2 separate regions of the Homo sapiens genome follow, and region 1 is linked to region 2. The links are contacts of gene promoters, found by promoter capture Hi-C in blood cells and fetal thymus (Javierre and others, 2016). All regions are on one chromosome and are shown on one strand. The core of a region is centred on a gene start or on the middle of the fragment in contact, and the rest is flanking DNA. Distances in the headings are between cores, read along the strand shown. Region 1 has its middle 160 kb from the start of TCERG1L. Region 2 holds the start of LINC01164 (long intergenic non-protein coding RNA 1164).

What was found. Contacts are between HindIII fragments. The CHiCAGO score rates a contact against its expected background, and 5 or more counts as called.
Region 1: a contact is called between a fragment that was not itself captured here and the fragment with the promoter of LINC01164 in region 2, in 1 of 17 cell types (M2 macrophages). The highest score is 5.9, in M2 macrophages.

Annotation. Positions count from the first base shown.
Region 1 is chr10:131,467,229-131,474,264 of GRCh38, forward strand. No RefSeq gene overlaps it. Among named protein-coding and RNA genes, the nearest start is that of TCERG1L, 160 kb to the left of the region's middle. The HindIII fragment of the contact is 1,008 bases long and covers 2,392-3,399 here.
Region 2 is chr10:131,786,060-131,792,580 of GRCh38, forward strand. It overlaps LINC01164 (long intergenic non-protein coding RNA 1164), which reads right to left and starts at 4,140. Exons shown (of 5, transcript NR_038365.1): 1 at 4,018-4,140; 2 at 3,598-3,807. The HindIII fragment of the contact is 4,036 bases long and covers 3,758-6,521 here.

The sequences.
Region 1 (7,036 bases), core at 1,646-4,145, 320 kb before region 2:
TTTTTCGGAGACGACATCTTGCTCTGTCACTTAGAGTTGGAGTGCAATGGCAAGATCTTGGCTCACTGCAATCTCCGCCTCCCAGGTTCGAGCAATTCTCCTGCCTCAGCCTCCCGAGTAGCTGGGATAACAGGCATGCACCACCATGCCCGGCTAACTTTTGTATTTTTAGTAGAGATGGGGTTTCACCAGGTTGGCCAGGCTGGTCTCGAACTCCTGACCTCCTGATCCTCCCACCTCAGCCTCCCAAAGTGCTGGGATTACAGGTGTGAACCACCATGCCCAGCCAATAATACTATTTTTAAATTTCATATTCCACTTGTTATTGCTGATATGTAGGAAAGTGATTGACTTTTGTATATTACCTTGTATCTTGCAACCTTGCTATAATCACTTAGTAGTTTCACAAGTTTTTTTGTCAATGCTTTCAGATTTCTACATAGATGATCATGTCATCTGCAAACAAATACAGTTTTATCTCTTCCCTCCCAATATGTCTACCTTTTTATTCTTGTCTTACTGTATTAACTAAGCCTTTCAGTACAGTGTTTGAAAAGGAGTGGTGAGTAGGGATATTCTTGCCTTGCTCTTGGTCTCAGTGGGAAAGCTTCAAGTTTATCACCATTAAATATGATGTTAACTGTAGGTTTTTCATAGATAATTCTTTATCAAGCTGAGGAAGTCCTTCTCTGTTCCCAGTTTACTGAAAGTTTTTATTACAAAGGAGGACTGTATTTTGCCATATTTTGTTGCATTTTCTGCAGCTATTAATATGATCTCTTTTTTTCCTTTTTAGCCTGTTTCTGTGATGGATTACATTAATTGATTTTTGAATGTTGAACCAGTCTTGCATACCTGGGATAATTTCCAGTTGGTCATGATACATAATTTTTGATATATTATTGAGTTTGTTTTGCTAATATTTTGTGGAGGATTTGGGATTTATGTTCATGAGAGATTTTGATGTAGAGTTTTCCTTTTCTAAAATGTCTGGTTTTGGTATTAGGGTATATTAGTCCATTTTTATACTGCTATGAAGAAATACCTGAGACTGGGTAATTTATAAAGAAAAGGAGTTTTAATGGACTCACAGTTCCACATGGCTGGAGAGGCCTCATAATTATGGCAGAAGGTGAAGGAGGAGCAAAGGCATCTTACATGGCAGCAGGCAAAACAGAATGTGTGCAGGGGAAATGCCCTTTATAAAACCATCAGATCTTGGCCGGGCGCAGTGGCTCGAGCCTGTAATCCCAGCACTTTGGGAGGCCGGGGCGGGCGGATCATGAGGTCAGGAGATCGAGACCATCCTGGCTAACACAGTGAAACCCTGTCTCTACTAAAAATACAAAAATTAGCCGGGCATGGTGGCGGGTGCTTTTAGTCCCAGCTATGTGGAGGCTGAGGCTGGAGAATGGCGTGAACCTGGGAGGCGGAACTTGCAGTGAGCTGAGAGCACGCCTCTGCACTCCAGCCTGGGCGACAGAGCAAGACTATGTCTCAAAAAAAAAAAAAAAGAATAAAAATTAAAAAAAAAAAAAAAAAGAAAACCATCAGCTCTCATGAGACTTATTCACTATCATGAGAATAGCAGGGGAAAAACCCACTCTATGATTCCATCACCTCCCACCGGGTCCCTCCCATGACACGTGAGGATTGTGGGAGCCACAATTCAAGATGAGATTTGGGTGGGGACACAGACAAACCCTATCATAGGGTATTACTGCCTTCTCAGAATGCATTAGAAAGTTTTCCCTCTGCTTCCATTCTCTAAAAGAGATCTTAGATAACTGGTAAAATATCTTCCTTAAATGTTCGGTAAAATTCATTAATAAACCCATTTGGCCCTGGGGCTTTCTGATTTGGAAGGTTATTAATTATTGATTCAATCTCTTTAATAGACATAGTCCTGTTCAGACTGTTTATTTCTTTTTTGTGATTTTTGGCAAATTGTGTTCTCAGGGATTTGGTCCATTTTAAATGGGATTTCAAATTTGTGGGTATAGAGTTGTTCATAGCATTTTTAAAATCATTCTTTTAATTCCCATAGGATCTGTAGTGATATCTCTCTTTCTTTTCTGATATTAGAAGTTTGTGTCCTCTCTCTATTTTGGTTTTGTTGATTTTCTCTGTCCATTTCCTGTTTTCAATTTTATTGATCTCAGCTTTAATTTTTAACCACTTTTTTCTGCTGCTTACTTTGGATTTTACTTGCTCTTCTTTACTTGTTTCTTAAGTTGGACACTTAAATTGTTGATTTTAGATCTTTCTCTTTTTCTAATATATGAATTCAATGCTATGAATTTCCTTCTAAAAACTCCTTTCACTGCATCACAGTTTTGGTATGTTGTGTTTTCATTTTTATTTTGTTTAAACATTTCTAAATTTCTCTTAAGCTTTCTTTTTTTACTCACATGTTAAGATGCCAATTATTTCCAGGTTATTGCTGGTGTTGCTGAGTTCACCTATGTCTTTACTGATTTTTCTGCCCCTTGGAACTGTCCATTTCTGACAGAGGGTGTTGAAGTCCACAACAGTGTGTTCATCTATTTTTCCATGCAGTTCTATTAGCTTTTGCCTCATTGGCTTGACTCCGTTCTTAATCACGTTAAGGATTGTTAGATATACTTGGGGAACTGATACCTTTATCATTATGTAATGCCCTGTTTATTTCTGGTAGCTTTCCTAGCTTATTCTGTCTGCATTAATACATCTTCTACTTTCTTTTCATTGGTTGTAGCATGGCATATATTTCCCCCATCCATTTACTTTTAATCTATACGTTTCTTTTAAGTTAAAGTGGGTTTCTTATAGATAACATGTAGTTGGGTCTTGCTTTTTCATTCACTCTGATAATCTTTGTCTTTCAATGGGTGCATTTGGACCATTGACATTCAAAGTAATGATTGATATAGTTGGATTAATATCTACCATACTTGATATTGTTTTTTATTTGTTGCCTTTATACCTTGCTCCTATTTTTGTCTTCCACTCTTTTCTAACCTTTTAGTTGATTTTGATTGAGATTTTATATAATTCCATTTTCTCTCCTTTCTTATCAGGTCAATCACATTCTTTTTTTTAACCTTTTTTTTAGTAGTTTTTCTAGAGTTTGCAATATAGATTTACAACTAATCTAAGCCCACTTTTGAAAAACACTACACCACTTCACAGGTAACGTGAGTACCTTAAAACAACCAAATAAGCCTAATTACCCCTCAGTCCCTGTGTCATTGCTGTCATTCATTTCATTGATATATCAGCAGACATAAATGTGTGTGTGCAAATATATATAAAACATTAAATACATACATGAACATACATGATCAAATGCATTGTTGCTGTTATTATTTTGAACACATTTACCTATCAATCAGGTCAATTAAGGTTATGAAAAATCAAAGCTTCCATTTTACCTTCACTTCTTCCTTTCTCAGAGCTTTTTTTTTTTTTTTTTTTTTGACGGAATTTTGCTCTTGTTGCCTAGGCTGGAGTGCAGTGGCATGATCTTGGCTCACTGCAACCTCTGCCTCCTGGGTTCAAGCGATTCTCCTGCCTCAGCTTCCCCAGTAGCTAGGACTACAAGCATGCACCACTATGCCCGGCTAATTTTGTATTTTTAGTAGAGACGGGGTTTCAACATGTTGGCCAGGCTGGTCTCGAACTCCTGACCTCAGAGGATCCACCCACCTAGGCTTCCCAAAGTGCTAGGATTACAGGAGTGAGCCACTACACCTGGCCCTCTTTGTTTTTCTAATGCAGATCTGAGATTCTGGCCTTTTTATTCTCCTTCTCTCTAAAGGATCTTTTAAAATATTTTTTGTAAGACGGGTCTACTGTCAACAAATTCCCTCAATTTTTGTTTGTCTGAGAAAGTCTTTATTTCTCCCTCACTTTTGAAGGGTAATTCTGCAGGGTACAGATTTCTGTGCCGGGGTGTTTTTTCCTCTAAATACTTCAAATATTTCACTGCACTCTCTTCTTGCTTACTTGGTTTCTGAGAAGAAGACAGAATTAATTCTCATCTTTTTTCCTCTACAGGTAAAGTGTTGGGTTTTTTTCCTCCCTTTAGCTTTTTTCAGGACTTTTTTTTAATCCTTGCTTTTCTGTGTTTGAAAATAGCATGTCTAGGTGTAGGCTTGGGGTCACAGACCCTGCTTGGTGAGCTACACTTCATGGATAGGTAGTTTGGTGTCTGATATTAATTTGTGGAAGTTCTCAGACGCTATTGTTTCCAGTATTTCTTCTCTTCCTTCTCTCTTTCTTCTCTTGCTGATATTCTCATTAATCTTTGTTACACCTTTCGTGGCTGTCCCACAGCCCTTTGATACTATGGTCTGTTCTTTTCATTCTTTGTTCTTTTTGCTTTTCAGTTTCCAGAGTTTCTATGGGTGTGTCCTCGAGCTCACACGGTCGTTCCTCAGCGGCGTCCAGTCTACTAATAAGCCCTGCTCATTTCTGCCCCTGCATTTTTATCTCTTCTGTTTCTTTTTCCTTCTTTCTTAGGACTTCTATCTCTCTGCTAAAATTGCCCATCTGTTCTTAAGTGCTGCCTGTTTTACCCATCAGAGCCCTTAGCATTTTAATCATACTCATATTCACGGGAACAAAACCAAACTCTGTAAAATATTTTAAGAGGTTGATTCTGAGCCAAGATACAAGTGACCTTGGCCTGGGGTCCTCAGAATGTGTGCCCGAGGCAGTCGAGTAACAGATTGGTTTTATACATTGTAGGGAGCCAAGAAATGTGGGTAAAATCACAAATCAATACATGAAATGTGTACGTTGGTTCAGCCTAAAGAGGCAAAGATTCTTGAAGTTCTTGGTGGGGGAAGGCTTACAGGTCATAGGTGGATTCAAAGATTTTCTAAATGGCAGTTGGTTTAAAAAGTGAAACTTTGTCTAAAGACTTGACGTCAGTAAAAGAAATGCTTGAGTTAAGGTAAGGGGGGCCATGGAGGCCAAGGTTCGTGTTAAGTTGACGAAGCCTCAGTGGTGGCAGCCCTCCGAGAGGATAGAAGGTCAGTGTCTCTTTTTGGATCTTGAAAGGCGACAGACTCTCAGTTAATCTCTCCTAGATCTGGGAAGGCCTGGCTGCATTAATGGAGATTCTTTGGAGATGGCAAAATTTCCCCCACAAATGACAGCTTTGAAGGGCCATTTCAAAATATGTGAAAGAAATACATTACATTTCGGAGTAAAATGCTTTGATTTCTTTCAGGGCCTGCTGTCTGACATGTGATGCTATACCAGAGTCAGTTTGGAAATTGGTATCTGATTGCTACAAGTCTGTTTTGTCAGCCTAGTGCTCTCCACTTTAAAGTTAGTGCTGGTCATGTTCCTAAACTCCAAAAGGGAGCGGGTATAATGAGACATGCATGACCTCCTGACCTCCTGACCTCCCAACCTCCCGACCTCCCTTCCTATCACGGTCAGGAATTCCATTTTTCACGTTTCTCTGAGGTCCCCTTGGCCCTGAGAGGGTCTGTCCAGTTGGTCGGGGGCTTAAGATTTTATTTTTGGTTTACAGTTTTATTTATTTATTTATTATTTTTTGAGATGGCATCTCACTGTGTGGCCCAGGGTGGAGTGCAATGATGCAATTTTGACTCACTGTAACCTCCACCTCCCGGGTCGGAGTGATTCTCCTGACTCCTCCCGAGTAGCTGGGATTACAGGCATGCATCGCCATGCCCAGCTATTTATTTTTAGTTTTAGTTTTGTTTTTTGTATTTTTATTAGAGACGGGGTTTCACCATGTTGGCCAGGCTGGTCTTGAACTCTTGGCCTCAAATGATCCACCCGCCTCAGCCCCCCAAAGTGCTGGGGTTACAGACGTGAGCCACTGCGCTCGGCCACAGTTGTTTTAAATTCACTGTCTGATCATTCTAAAATCTCTGCCATGTCTGGTTTTGTCTCTCCAAATTGTGCTTTTTTGCCTTTTAATATGCCTTATAATTTTTTTGATATGCAGACACAATGCGCCAAATGCAAGAAACTTCCATACGGACCTTGGTGATGTGGCGGTGCGGCGCTGGGTAGGGGAGAGCAGCCTATAGTCCTGCGAGTAGGTCTCCGGCTTCCCGAGAGCCTGTGTCTCACTTCACAAGCACACGCCTCTGTTGTCCCTCCCAGCTTAGATGGGACAGAACAGCCTCAGTGGGCTGAGCTGGGTATTTCCCTTCCCTTGGGGAAGACCGTGACATGTGGAAGGTGACCTTGTGTTTCAGAGGTCGGGAGGCCAGATCAAGGGGTGTCTACTCCAGAAAGATCACCACGAACTTCTGAACAATGAGGTCCCATGACTGAGCCTGTGCCGAGCACAGAGGCAACTGGTGGTGGTCATGCTGCCGATGGACAGATGATGCTGGGGCCTGGGAGCGACTCTGGGGGAGGCCACAGGGCAGGTGCTTGTCTCCAGGGCATGGAGCCAGGAAGTCTTCCCACCGGAGGCCACCAGCAGAGGAGAGCATTTCCTTCCATTCCTGGTGGCTCCAGCTGTCCCCATCCCGAATACAGAATGATTGTCTGTCCCAAAGCACCTCCGGAACCCGGCACAGGTGCCACTGAGCCAGGCGGTGCCCCAGCGCAGCTCTCTCATTCCATGAGGTTCCGCTTCACAGCCCCAGGTAAGCCCAGTGCTGAGAGGCTGCTGCCTCCCACCTGAAAGAAGGAGCAGCCCAGCCCCAGCCGCAGGGGCACAGGGATGGCAGGGATGGCAGGGCTGGAGGGAGGCTCCGCAATGGCAGTGAGAAGTGGCCTCTCTGTCCAGGGACTTCAGCGGGCTCCATATGTTCTCCAGGTCTTGGCACCTAGTGACTCAGGACACCCAGCAGCTGAGGACATGGCCACCGGCCCTCTGGGTGTGCAGAGCTTGTTGGCAGAGCCACACCAAGATGGCCCAGGCAGAGTCCACACTGTGCAGGCCGGGCTTGGGTGTGCAGGGAACTCTGAGGACCCTTCCAGATGCTCCAACCGAAGGACACACACGCCCCTCCCCCAACCCAACCCCCACCCATACCCCTCCCCCTCCCAGCCC
Region 2 (6,521 bases), core at 2,890-5,389:
GCATCAGAGTTCATCCGGTTGACCTTGCGGAGCTGCCCTAGGGGACGGAGAGCTGCTGTGCTCCCTGCTTCTGCACACCAGGCAGGAGTCAGGCCACCACGAGCCCCTTCCCCTCTATCACCTGCCGCATTCCCAGCCCACGGCTCTGCTCAGGGTGGACTGGGCTCCTCTGGCCGCCCAGCTCCCCTGCAGGGTGGCTGACAGGCCCTTGCCTACCCTTCACTTCTAACATTGCTATCCCCATTTCCCAAAATTCAGCAAGGTTAGTTCCCTTCTCTTTTCCCCTAATTCTTGCTTTTTAAGATCAATCCTGAGCAAGAGGAGCTTTCTCAAGAAGGAATTATGTGCATCTGTAGCCCCACTGAAGCTTCAACAAACTGATTCCCCCAGATGTGCTCAATGGAAGAAGTCAGGTCCTTTGTTGTGTATCAGATCCACTTGGCCAAGGAGAAGGGTTCTGCGCTGATTCATTCATAAAATCTTCATCAAGCTCTTACTGCATTTATCATCCTGCGCAGGAACTAATGGGTACGTGCATGCACCTGACAAGGAAAAATGGGCCTAAGAAACATCACCGTAAATGTCATGTCTTTAAGACATAAGCGTCAACATTTTAAGGATAACATTGAATTTTTTTCAAAAGAATATTATCTTTTTCAATAGAAAATACACAAATCTGTACCAGTGTGAATGTCCTAGGTCATTGATCACAATGGAACTGGTTCCACTGAGTTATGACCTGCTGTAAGAAGAGGCATGGAGACTTGTTCTGTTCTGAGGATCCCGGCAGTTCTGAGTTTAAGTGCTTGTCGGCTGGGAACTTTGGTTATGCACAGGCAAACCTCTGGAACCTATGTTCCCAGGCCAAGGAGACTAAGGTAACAGTGTTGTCAGTGCACACCGTACAGTCCTTGGAGCTGGGCTCGCCTTTTCCTGTGCCACCTGAAAGCTCTGGCCAACGCAGTGGAAAAAACAAAAACAAAACGAAACAGCAATAACAAAAAAAACCACACTGGGTTTTGACTGAAGTGACATCTATCGCCGGCATTATATAGATTCGAATTTATTGACTTGACTCTTTTTTTTAATTCTAATTTATTCACCATTTCAAAAACCAAGTATGTGATTAAAATCTGCTGCCACCTGGTGGTGGTCACAGTGTCACATGTCATGTTCCAAAAAGTGAAGTCCACGCTACAACTGTGTTTTGGTAAAGGTAGCAATGAACATATTTTTCTCATCTATTTAGGGGAAAATGGTAAAATATGTGAACTTATTCATTGTTAATCCTACATGTGACAAGTATAATCCGAGCACAAGCCTTGAGGCAGCATTTCTTAACTGGTCATAGATGCTTTTGAAACCCTGATAAAATGTGGGAGGATCTCCCTGGGAAAATGAACACACGTGCACATTCACAAAGTTACACATGCAACTTTGAAAGAACACAGTACAGAGTGAAGATGCTTGCTTTAAAGAAAATACCTAGAATTCGATCTCACTGAGATGGTTGCAAATTAAAAGGCTCTAATCACAGTGAAAAGGAACCGGTAGCTATGAGCCACTGTGAGTTTTCTAAGAAGTCAAACCAAGTGCACCCTGATTCCATTTTGTTGTTATGATATGTAAAGGTAAATATATAGGAGATATACGTGTTTTATATATGTGTATATAAAACATAAACATTTATATATTTTTGTACTTATTCATATAAAACATATTTATATATAATTATTGTACAAGATAATTTAATTCCATGCAATAGTTATTTATCACATGGCTGGACTGGTCACTGGGCCGGGTGCTGAATGCTCAGAAAATTAAGACACAATTTCTGCCTTCAAAAGACCCACAGCCTGGCAAGGAAAATGAGCAGACATATATACACATATATAAGAATTATAATCTGATATGACAAGTGTTCGTCCAAAGGCACTACGGGAGCAAGAGGAAGAAGCAATTTCTTCTATCTGATTTGAGGGGTGGCAGGGAGAAAAAGTTGCCATTTCAGCTAAGGAAAGAGATGGGTAACCCCAACCCCAATGTGAAAGACACATATTCAAAGCAGGGAACTGCATGGGGGAAAGCTCAGCAGCATCAAAGTTCACAGGACCAGCACGTGCTCTGGGGTCAGGTCGCCAAAGCCACAGAGTGAAGCTAAACTTCAGCTTGGTGTTTTGCAAAATCTTTTATTCTTTCTCCTTGATTGTCCCCTACAGTGAACCTTCCCACCAGTCCTATTCTATAAAATGTTCCCTTCCCTCACACTCCAGGGATTATCCAGGGTGCAGAACAGGGAGGAGTATGCCCCATCTCGTGTGCAAAACCTCATTATGTAAGGTAATTCTATGGGATACCTTTTATACCCCACATGAAAACCCTCCCAGCCTCACCTCGCACTTCACCCAGTACCTCCCAGGCTCTGATCCACTTTGCATAGGTGTCACCTGACACCACCTGGGCTCGGAGATCTGCTCACCTCTTACTTCCTGCCTTGGCCCCGGGGTCACCTGCAGGAGGCTGCTCAGCAATCACAGTTATGCAAGTCTCCAAAGACAGGGCCTCCACGGCCAGGACAGAAGCAGATAATAAGTTCTCTTTCCTTTACTGTCCCAAGGAGACTGTGCTGAGATGCATTTCATAAAGGGCCTCAGAAGGTCTCAAAAAGCCCAGCATCAGCCACTCCAAGCGGCTGTCGATTGGATAAGCCATCTGGTATTCCCATTCACTCCTTCCCTCCCTCGCTCAACTCACTCCTGCTCGCCTGAGCCCTGAGACCCCTGCCCAAAGAAACAGCCTGAACTCAAGCCTTTGTCCCTAGCTCTGCTGGAGAAGCTCCATCTAAGACCACTGATACCACACCTGAAAGCTCTAGATAGCAGACCTTCAGGATAGAATTTGGGGGCTAGTCCCCTCGCCAATCCAGCACACAGAGGAACCCCATTGCCAGTGGCAATTGGGGAAGTAATAAGCCCCTGGCCTCAGCTGCCTCATCATCACCAAGAAGGGCACTGGAATAGGGCTAGAGAGAGGTGCAGGGAGGTGCGGGGGAGGTACAGGGGAGGCACAGGGGAGACAGGCTTTGCACTGGCATCCATGACACCTTAGAGACTCCCCATCCAGCAGGGTAGGGGTCCCCAACTCCCAGCCATGAACCAGTACCAGTCTGTGGCCTGTTAGGAGCCAGGCCACACAGCAGGTGAGCAGCAGGCTGAGGAGCACTGCTACCCAAGCTCACCCTCCTGTCAGATCAGCAGCGGCATTAGATTCTCATAGGAGCACAATCCCTATTGTGAACCGTGCTTTTGAGGGATCTCGGTTGCCCACTGCTTATGAGAATCTAATACCTGATGATCTGAGATGGAACAGTTTCATCCCCAAACCATCCCCACCCCCAGTCTGTGGAGAAATTGTCTTCCACAAAACGTGTCCCTGGTGCCAAAAAGGTTGAGGACCACTGCGCCAGGGCGTTGGATTCAGAAGGTCTTGCAGAGGGTGCATCAGCAATATGCATTTCTAACTGGCAGCAAAAGTCCTCTTACAAAACGTTCATCTACTGTAGAAAGATTTAGGATGTAGAAACAAAAGAAATGTCACCTGTAACTCTGCCATGGGTCAGTGTGCACCATCTCAGGCTCTTCTGCACGCCCATGTGGGTGGGGTCGGGGTTGGGTGTCTCGGCCAGGTGGAGGCTGGGCCAGGCCCCAAAGCTGTGGGCGGCAGATGCTGCATCCACCTCCTCTGGCTTGGATCTAGAAGCTTCCTCCTCTCTCTTCCTCTTGCCTGAATTGACACAGGAGATGAAGCCTGGGGAAAATGGACCAGAACTCAGACCCCAACCCCCAACCTACAATGACATTCAAGGATGTAAGACGCACATGATAGATTTGTTAGCACAGTGTTATCTGTAAATCAGAGCTGTGTTCACTGTCAGTTAGAACAGGCTGGGTTATACCGAGTAACAAATGTCCTGCAATCACAGAGGCTTCCCTCCACAAAGATCTGCCTGTCACTCACCACGTGCCCAGGGCTTGGCTCAGCCCTTCACAGGTGGATGGGCATTCGCAAACTGGAGCACGGCAGCCTGTCATAGAGACAGGAAATGAGCACATGGTGAACAAGTGCTGGCTCTTAGCTTCTGCCCAGCAGAGCCCCATGACACTTCTGCTCACATTTCATTGGCCAAGGCAAGTCACATGGCCCTACTGCCACATGACACTTGTACTTGAATTTCATTGGCCAAGGCAAGTCCCCTTGCTTTGCCTGCTTCAGAGGAGCAGGGATGTTCAGTGAGCAAATCACCCTGAGAACTTGATGACTGTCCTTGCTCCATTCTTTCTTTTATCACGGTCCTTTGTCCACCGACACATCACCAGCTCTGGACTGGAGCTCCAGTAGAGAGGGCACCAGGCACACTCATCCTTGTATCCCACAGGGACTGCCATCATTGGCAGACAGGCAGTCTACTTCTCTTTTTCCTGCCAAGAGTCGGAGAGAGCAGTGACTTCCACAACACTGGCCCTGCAGACTTTGTAACCTAAGTTCCCAAAAATGGACTAAAAAGTAATGAGTTCTTATCCTGACTATTCACTCAGCAATACTTAGTTATTAAACATCTTCTATGTGCCAGGTACATAATGTGGAGAATAAATAGAAGTAGAAAATAAGAAAATGAAAATATCCTACAGGTTATCTCTTATTCAAAATGGTTGGGACCAGAAAGGTTTTGAGTTTTGGATTTTGGAATATTTACATTACACTTAATGGTTGAGCATTTTGAATCCAAAAGTCTAAAATCTAAAATGCTCCAGTGAGCATTTCCTTTGAGCATCATGTCAGCACTCAGAAAGTTTCAGATTTTGGAGCATTTCAGATTTCAGATTTTTAGATTCAAGATGCTCAACCTGTATAATTTCACCACTCTGGGGGACCTACTTAACATTTTTTATATATTTCCTTTCCGTTTTTTTCTATGGATTTTTTTGGTCATGCCGACTTAAATAATTTTCTCTTTTTTTTCACTTAAAGTTATAACTACAACAGTCTTAAGAACTCTTTGAAAATTTAATTTTAAAGACTGAATCATATTGCCTTTAATGTGGATTACATCAGTGCAGGTTATTTATTGGGCCATCTTATTATCATTAAACACTTTGGGTCATTTCACTTTTTTATTTTTTAAAATGCTATGATTAGTATCATTTTTAAAATTATACCTCAAAAAGTCTTTGTAAGAAGATTATTCATAAGGCGTAAGCATAAGGAAACCTTCTTATGAGATCATTTGTTCCACAACAATTTATCTCAGCCTAATTGCCTTTTATTGGCCATAGAGCTGTTCACTTCCTCAGCAACCCAGGGTTCAAGTCCTGTAAAACACAACACTGGGCAGTTCTAGAAGAGAGAAGCGTTTCTGGAGCTTGGCTCTAAAATCTTCAGATCACAACAATTTTCACAATGAAATAAAATTTAATTTTTGGCTCACATAGTAAAAGATTATATCAGATTTCTCATTCCTCGGAAAATCAGAGAGAACTTAATAACAAATACCATAATTATCTGCAAAGACTGAACGGTGATTAAATTATCAGGAGGCCGTTACTCCTAAAACTATTTCTTTAATTAGCTAAAGCTGGCAGTATATATTAATATTTCCTGAGATATTTGCATACATTCACAACAGGCTAACCAGACATTAGCTGAAATATAATTTTTCTAATATTATGTTAGAAATATTTTAAGATTAAATCATATTATCATGTTTTTTCCTGTGATTATTAGAGCAGACACTCTTGATTTATCACCATAAATTCTCTAATTTAGGAGCTGAAAATGCTTCTCGTTTTCCATGATGAGCTTTTTCAATTCCATTTACACAATAGAAGGTGCTCTTTGAAGCCCAGATCTGCTGGTAGAACGTGGTTTTTGATAATCCACATCTGCACACTGCTCCCAGACAAACACAAGGAAGCCCACCCTAATATGTAGCTGGCAGGACCCCGGCCATTCAGATTCCGTGGCCACAGCAGGAAAAGCGTCTGGGTAGCAGTGGGTGCAGGGACAGGGTGAGGGGAGCTGGTCCTGGCTGGCCACAGCACCAAAGAGCGGAGGACATGTCAGCAAGCAGGATTTGAATGAGGGTCGAACAGGTCTTTCTCAACTCCATCCCAGCCTGCATAGAGGACAGGACACTCAATTGAATTGGGCAACTCACAGAAGGTCCCAAAAGGGGGTCAGTACAGAGGTGTGGGGATGGTCAGGGAGGCCACACCTGGGAATCACAGCAAGGCTCTGTCACCACCACTGGGGACAGGAAACTGGGGAGTCCTGTGGTGAGCCCCAGAGCAGAGGACCGCCCAACAGGAACCAAGCCCTCAGGGGAGGGGCGCAGCCAGCTCCAGGCTGCCCCGGGGGAGGGAGCAGAAAATAAAGGTTCTGACCACTCTCCATTCTCTTTCTCCACACCCCTGCCCAGGTCCCTTTGGCCAAACCCAGCAGAAGCCAGAGGGGAAGGAGACTCA